2 separate regions of the Homo sapiens genome follow, and region 2 is linked to region 1. The links are contacts of gene promoters, found by promoter capture Hi-C in human tissues and cell types (Jung and others, 2019). All regions are on one chromosome and are shown on one strand. Each heading gives the region's core, a stretch centred on a gene start or on the middle of the fragment in contact. The rest is flanking DNA. Distances are from core to core; before and after follow the strand shown.

Region 1 (3,897 bases), core at 680-3,179:
CCGGCAGCAATATTTTATAAAGGAATCAAAAGAAAAGTAAAGCAAACATTTGAAGTAGTTCAGATAAGCAGCCTGCTTCATGCACAGTTCACAAGGAAAACCCTCTGTCAGAAGGTAAATGATATTTCCAAGCTTGGAAGCCAAACTGTGACTGCTGAAATGGAGCCCCCCAGGGCGGGTCAGTCCCAGATGATGAGGCAGAGAAAATTAAGGATTTATCTGGGAGTTTGAAATGCCCTTCTGTCCCCTCCTCAGTTTAGAAATTATTCTCTCCTTTAAGACCTTCATTTTCACCAACAGGAAGCTCTCGACTTGAGTCAGTTTAAGCTAAATTTACTGTTAAATTCATAAACCCGCAGGGCGCGGTGGCTCACGCCTGTAATCCCAGCACTTTGGGAAGCCGAGGCGGACGGATCACGAGGTCAGGAGATCGAGACAATCCTGGCTAACACGGTGAAACCCCGTCTCTACTAAAAATACAAAAAATTAGCCGGGCGTGGTGGCAGGCGCCTGTAGTCCCAGCTACTTGGGAGGTTGAGGCAGGAGAATGGCATGAACCCGGGCGGGAGGCGGAGCTTGCAGTGAGCCGAGATTGCGCCACTGCACTCCAGCCCGGACGACAGAGCGAGACTCCGTCTCAAAAAAAATGATAATAAATACAATAAAATAAAATAATAAATAAAAATTCATAAACCCTTTCTCCAGGAGGCATCCCAAATGGGTCTTGCTCTAATTCTGACCTTCACAGATTTTCTTTTTCTTTTTCTTTCTTTTTTTTTTTTGAGACAGTCTAGCCCTGTCGCCCAGGCTGGAGTGCAGTGGCGCAATCTCGGCTCACTGCAAGCTCCGCCTCCCGGGTTCACGCCATTCTCCTGCCTCAGCCTCCCGAGTAGCTGGGACTATAGGCGCCCGCCACCGCACCCGACTAATTTTTTGTATTTTTAGTAGAGACGGGGCTTCTCCGTGTTAGCCAGGATGGTCTTGATTTCCTGACCTCGTGATCCGCCCGCGTCGGCCTCCCAAAGTGCTGGGATTATAGGCGTGAGCCACCGCTCCCGGCCGTAAAGATTTTTAAATAATAAAAACAGGGGTCTAGGGTGGGGGGATGTGGGAGGGATAACATTAGGAGATATACCTAATGTAAATGACGAGTTAATGGGTACAGCACACCAACATGGCGCATGTATACATATGTAACAAACCTGCACATTGTGCGCATGTACCCTAGAACTTAAAGTTTAATAAATAAAAATTAAAAAAAAAAAACAACAAAACAGGGGTATTCTTGTGTTGACCAAGTTGGTCTTTAACTCTTTACTTTAAGGGATCCTCCAGTCTTGGCCTCCCAAAGTGCTAGGATTACAGGCGTGAACCACCGCACCCTGCCTGTGTTCAGGTCACAATCTCTTCTAGCTTGGATAAAGGGAAAGAAATAAAGGGGGAGAGGGCATGGTTTCATCAATGGAGATTCTCTGCAGATGCAAATTCCCCCCCTCCAAAGACAGCTTTGCCAGTCCACTTTTTTTTGCGGCCGAGCCACAGCCATTTCAAAATCTGTCAAATAAATATATTTTGGCGTAAAATATTTTAATTTCCTTCACCTCCACTGGACTCTGAGTCTGGAATTTCCTGTGCAAGACAAAGGAGCAGGGACAGCCCATTGAGTGAGGAAGACAACGGTACCCCCTCTAGCAATTCGGAGCAAATTTGGCTGAAATGCAAATACCCAAAGAGCAAGACGCAGGGAGGGAGCTCGCTTAGATAATCTGTGGTTGGAACAGGTCATTTCGGTTCTGCCGGGCCTTGTTACCCAGGGCTTCCGCTGTCACTCAGGACCGATGGGACGGGGACTGGAGCCTCATCCAATCAGGGGCGCTGGGGCGGGGTCCTGCCAACTGTCCATCCGGGGAAGGGGAGGCCGCATTCCCGCTTTCCTGACTCCCAGGCGTCTTGCACCAAAGGGAGGTCGGGATCTCGGTTTTCCGGCCCCGAGAGGGACCAGGTGCCTCCGCCATAGCTTCTGTCGCTCCATCGCCCGCACTGTGACTGGACTGTTAGAGGGATCCGTGGAGAGGAGGCCAGGACACCTGGAAGCCGGGAAATGGTGAGTGTGCGGGGCCGGGGGTCCCGAGACGGGGGAGGGGCCGGGAGGAACCGGCTCGAACCGGCTCTAGCAGGACCCAGGCCTTCCTGCAGCGACTTCGGGTCTGCAGAGCGGAGTCCCCCTGGCGTAGCTCGGCCCTCGGTCCCTTCGGCCGCAGGGTGGGGTTGGGCCGGCAGCCGGGACCCCAGGCGTCCTGTCCCGTCTCTGCGCTGCGACTGCGACCCCGGCCCTGGCCCCGGCCCCGGAGCCCTCTCTGGGGAGCTCCGCGCCCGTAGTCCCGCGTCTCCCCAGATTGTGCGGAGACCACGGGAGGGTCATGGAGGCAATCCTGCCTCGGGTGTGTGGTTCGTGTGGGAGGAGCGGTGGGCTGCGGGGTCCCCAGTCCCCCCTTTTTTCCTGAAAAACTAAATTGAAGGCCAGGCGCAGTGGGTCACGCCTGGCAGGTTGAGGCGGGGGGATTGCTTCAGCCCAGAAATTCGAGACCAGCCTAGGCAACATACCGAGACCCTAGTTTCTATTAAAAATAAATTTTTAAAAAATGAGCCGGGCGTGGTGCCGCCCACCTGTAATCCCAGCTACTGGGGGGCTGAGGTGGGAGGATCGCTTGAGGGAGGAGATTGGGACTGCAGTGAGCCGAGATCGCGCCACTGCACTCCAGCCTGGGCGACTGAGCGAGACCCTGTCTCAAACAAAACAAAACAAAAACAACAGCAACAAACTAAACTGAGTCCTCTTAAAAATTAAAGAGTTTTGCTTCTCAGAATAGGAGTTTGAAAAAAATGAATGAGAAATGTTTCCTGAATGAGAAACACCCAGTCATGGCTTGCAGTTTGATAACGGAAAGAGCAAAACTCTGCAAAATAACTTGAACTATGTTCTACGCCGAATATGAGAGAACGTGACCAAGGGAAACAACCGCATGTAGCCTCGAGTAAGTGGTCCCCAGGAGGTTCGATGGCAGTTTGGTTTTATTCATTTCAGCGAGACAGGAATTGCAGGGAAAAGATCAATCAAGGCATGGAAGGCTGACAGGGCAGGACACGTAGAAGCGGGGCTTAGAAGGCACAGGTGGTTGAGGGATTCTGTAGTTGGCAGTTGGCTGAGAGTGTGAAGTTGTGTCTAAAATTTGAAAGGGGTAGGAAGGAATGTTTAAGTGAAGGGAGTCTGTTACCTGCCACGTGATTCCATCCCCACCAAAAAACAGATATGTTTCACTAGATTTTATGAATTCTAAGGCGTGACTTTACCCTTGCCTTGCATGGCCTTAGGTCTTGTTTGCAATTTAGTATTTATTGGTACAAAGGGTTTCTTTGCAGGTTTTTTTTTTTTTTTGAGATGGAGCCTCACTCTCGCCCAGGCTGGAGTGCAGTGGCGCAATCTCGGCTTACGGCAACCTCCGCCTCCTAGGTTCAAGCAATTCTCCTGCCTCAGCCTCCCAAGTAGCTGGAATTACAGGTGCACGCCACCATACCCGGCTAATTTCTGTATTTTTAGTAGAGATGGGGTTTCACCATGTTGGCCAAGCTGGTCTCAAACTCCTGACCTCAAATAATCCGCCTGCCTCCGCCTCCCTCCGCCTCCCAAAGTGCTAGGATTACAGGACTGAGCCACTGTGCCCGGCCTCTTTGCAGGTCTTATGTCTATTTTAATATGAATGTGGGTCAGTTGCTGTGTCTAAACTCCAGAAGGGAGTATGGAGTGTCTGATCTCCCTTACTAATGTAACTGGGAACTTTCAGGTTTTTGGGGGGCCTCCCCTTGGTAAAGAGCCACTCAGTTGACTTGATTGGGGTG
Region 2 (3,897 bases), core at 614-3,113, 400 kb after region 1:
TCTAGAGGAAAGCAGATGCCACCTTCCAAATAGTCTCCTATAATGTGTTCAGATTGGATGGGCTTTATCCTTTAAGTAACAAGTTGTGACAAAATGTGGGAAATGTTATCTACCAAAAAAAGCTCATAAGAGACCCAGTGGTGAGTGGTTTTTTCATGCTTATCCTAGTATGTTTTCTGTTGCTTATAACAGAATAGTAGAAGCTGAGTAATTTATTTAAAAAACAATATTTCTTCCAGCCTGGCCAACATAGTGAAACCCTGTCTCTATTAAAAATACAAAAATTATCCAAGTGTGGTAGCATGTACCTGTAGTCCCAGTTACTAAGGAAGCTGAGACAGGAGAATTGCTTGAACCCAGGAGGAGGCAGAGGTTGCAGTGAGCCGAGATCGTGCCACTGCACTCCCATCTGGGCAACAAAGCAAGAGTCCATCTAAAAAGAAAAGCCAAAAAACAACAAAAAAAATTATTTATTATAGTTCTGGAACCTAGCAAGTAAGAGGGCTTCATGTGGTGAAAGCCTTCTTGGTCATGGGGGCTGTGCAGAGTTTCTAGGTGGTTGAAGGTATCACATGGAGAATGGGCTGAATGTGGTAGCTCAGGTTCCCTTCTTTTTTAATATGGCCATCAGTCCCACTCCTGAGATAACTCATTAATTCAGTAAGCCATGAATTCATGAATGGATTAATTTATTTATGAGGTCTGAACCCTTAAGATCTACTCACCTCTTAAAGGCCTCACCTTTCATTAGTGCCACATTGGCGATTATGTTTCAACAAGCATTTTGGAGGGGACAAACATTCAAACCTAGCAGTGAATGGCCGGGCGCGGTGGCTCACTCCTGTAATCCCAGCACTTTGGGAGGCTGAGGTGGGTGGATCACGAGGTCAAGAGATCGAGACCATCCTAGCCAACATGGTGAAACCCTGTCTCTACTAAAAATACAAAAATTAGCTGGGCATGGTGGTGTGCGCCTGTAATCCCAGCCACTCGGGAGGCTGAGGCAGGAGAATCGCTTGAACCCAGGAGGCGGAGGTTGCAGTGAGCCGAGATTGCGCCACTGCACTCCAGCCTGGAGACAGAGCAAGACTCTGTCTCAAAAAAAACAAAAACAAAAACAAAAACAAGCAAAAAACCTAGTAGTGAATGATCAGGTATGCTCCCTCTGCCAAGCATATCACAAAAGTTTGAACTCTCAGAGGGAACATAGGAGTTCAGCAGATACCATATTTTTTACATAGTTTAGGGACACTCATCCTCCATTATCGCTTATGTTGGTGAAGCCCCCTAACTAAATTTAGTTCCTAGATATAGTGAAAGGTTCAACTTTGTGAGCAAGCATTTGTAACAATATGCGGTCTCAGGACAGCTGATGTTAACTCTTCTGCCCATTAGGTAGGAGGACTTTGTCACATCAGGAATTACAAACATCCTGTACACATAGATATTAGGGGTGATCTAGGCAATAAATGTCACTCCTTTAACTCACCAAGGAGTGGCATTTTATAATTCGACTGTTATTTTACCAAACACGTTTAATTCTAGCATTAGAATTGCATTCTGGGAGAAAATGAGTTTAGAAAGAGGGTAAGAGTTGGATTACCGTGTCGTTGCATAAATGTTTGGACACCACAGCATCATGTGACATTTATGTAGTGAGTACAGATTCCCAGTGCTGTCAGTTTCAGCTTTCCTCCTCTGCACGTGTCGGGTGTTTCAGGACTCAGTGGCCTTTGAGGATGTGGCTTTGATCTTTTGCCTGGGAGGAGTGGGCTTTGCTGGGTCCATCATAGAAGAGTCTCTACAGAGATGTGCTACGGGAAACCATCAGGAACCTAGACTGTATAGGTAAGGGGGACATCATGTCTTTACTTAGTCAATTACGAATATTTGTTTCTTCGTCACCAATGCTGTTCAAAGATTTAGAATATAAAAGAAATACGTTTGACCCTTGAACAATGCAGGGATTAGGGGCACCAGCCCTCAATGCAGTCACAAATCTTCAAATAACTTTTTTCTCCCCCGCAACTTGACTACTAATAGCCTACTGTTGACCAGAAACCTTACTGGTAAGATATACATTCAATTAACACATATTTTATATGTCATATGCATTACATATTGTTTTCTCACAATAAACTAAGGCAGAGAAAAATGTTAATCAGAAAATCACAAGGAGAAAAAACTATATTTACTATTTCATTAAGTAGAAGTGGAGCATCATAAATGTTATCATCCTTATTGTCTTCACATTGAGTAGGCTGAATAAGAGGAGGGGTTGGTCTTGCTGTCTCAGTAGTAGCAGAAACTGAAGAAAATTTGTATGTAAGGAGATCTATGCAGTTCAAACCTGTGTTGTTGAAGAGTCAACTGTGGTTTGGTGAATAAATCATCCATAACTGCAGTCTACATAAAATCTTACATTTTTAATATAATTTTATTTTTATTTATTATTATTTTTTTTTTGAGATGGAGTCTTGCTCTGTCACCCAGGCTGGAGTGTAGTGGCACGATCTTGGCTCACTGCAGCTTCTGCCTCCTGGGTTCAACTGATTCTCCTGCCTCAGCCTCCCGAGTAGCTGGGACTACAGGCGCACGCCGCCATGCCCGGCTAATATTTTTTTGTATTTTTTAGTAGAGACGGGGTTTCACTGTGTTGCCCAAGCTTGTCTCGAACTCCTGAGCTCAGACGATCCACCCACCTCGGCCTCCCAAAGTGCTAGGATTACATGCGTGAACCACCGCCCCCGGCCTCAATGTAATTTTATAATAATATATAGTGATTCTTCTGGGTCTACATTTTAGGAATGAAATGGGAAGACCAAAACATTAAAGATTAGTACAAAATTCCCAGAAGAAATCTAAGGTAATTTGCCCTAGGAAGAGAAAGATATGTCTTTGGAATAATTCTTAAAGTGACAGGAAATTTTTCACACCTATAATTCCAGCACTTTGAAAGGGTGGGGGGGTGGGGCGCAGTTCAGGAGGTCGGGAATTCGAGACCAGTCTGGCCAACATAGTGAAACCCTGTCTCTACTAAAGATACAAAAAATTAGCCAGGCGTGGTGGTGTGAACCTGTAGTCCCAGCTACTTAGGAGGCTGAGGCAGGAGAATCGCATGTACCCGGGAGGAGGACGTTGCAGTCAGTCGAGATCATGCCATTGCACTCCAGCTCAGGCGAAAGTGCAAGACTCCGTCTAAAAAAAAAGACAGGAAAATTTTAAAACAAGCAAAATAAATAAATAAATAAATAAATAAAAAAGAATAATCCTGGCTTAAATTTATTCACTCTTAGAAAATTTTCTTCAAAAACATACTTAAATGGGACATAGCTGTTAAGTGTGTCTGCAAAATAATTTCCTTGGAAAACAGTACTAAGAATTCCCACGTGAATATTACTGTTCCGATGATAGCCACAGTTGAGTTATCTTGCACAGCATTCAGTCCGTTCATGTTCAAACAGGGCATGACACCTAAGCTTTGCATGATAATGTCAACAATGTAAATTTAAGACCTATTAATATATATAAAAAACACTTATAAACAAACCTGTAGTAATTGTACTTCTCTGTTTTTACAGATATCATATGGTAGACTGATTCTGTAAAAGTAAAGGAGGTAGATAATTTGGAGAAACTTTCAGCCACATTCCAGGTGGTATTGTGAACAACAAAAATCTCCCTTGAGGCCGGGCTCGGTGGCTCACGCCTGTAATCCCAGCACTTTGAGAGGCTGAGGCAGGCAGATTACCTGAGATTGGGAGTTCGAGACCAGCCTGACCAACATGGAGAAACCCCGTCTCTACTAAAAATACAAAATTAGCCGGGCGTGGTGGCACAATGCCTGTAATCCCAGCTACTCGGGAGGCTGAGGCAGGAGAATCCCTTGAACCTGGG

What was found. The method cuts DNA at HindIII sites, captures the fragments that hold promoters and counts their contacts. A contact is called where the count stands out against the background at its distance.
Region 2: a contact is called between a fragment that was not itself captured here and the fragment with the promoter of ZNF625-ZNF20 in region 1, in 2 of the 25 tissues and cell types used here (IMR-90 fibroblasts and aorta).

Annotation. Positions count from the first base shown.
Region 1 is chr19:12,154,763-12,158,659 of GRCh38, reverse strand. It overlaps ZNF625-ZNF20 (ZNF625-ZNF20 readthrough (NMD candidate)), which reads left to right and starts at 1,929. Exons shown (of 8, transcript NR_037802.1): 1 at 1,929-2,104. It overlaps ZNF625 (zinc finger protein 625), which reads left to right and starts at 1,926. Exons shown (of 4, transcript NM_145233.4): 1 at 1,926-2,104. The coding sequence starts at 2,102. RefSeq lists enhancers at 1,900-2,009, 1,572-2,263 and a silencer at 2,240-2,409. The HindIII fragment of the contact is 11,402 bases long and covers 1-3,897 here.
Region 2 is chr19:11,757,757-11,761,653 of GRCh38, reverse strand. No RefSeq gene overlaps it. Among named protein-coding and RNA genes, the nearest start is that of ZNF441, 7.3 kb to the left of the region's middle. The HindIII fragment of the contact is 5,499 bases long and covers 1-3,897 here.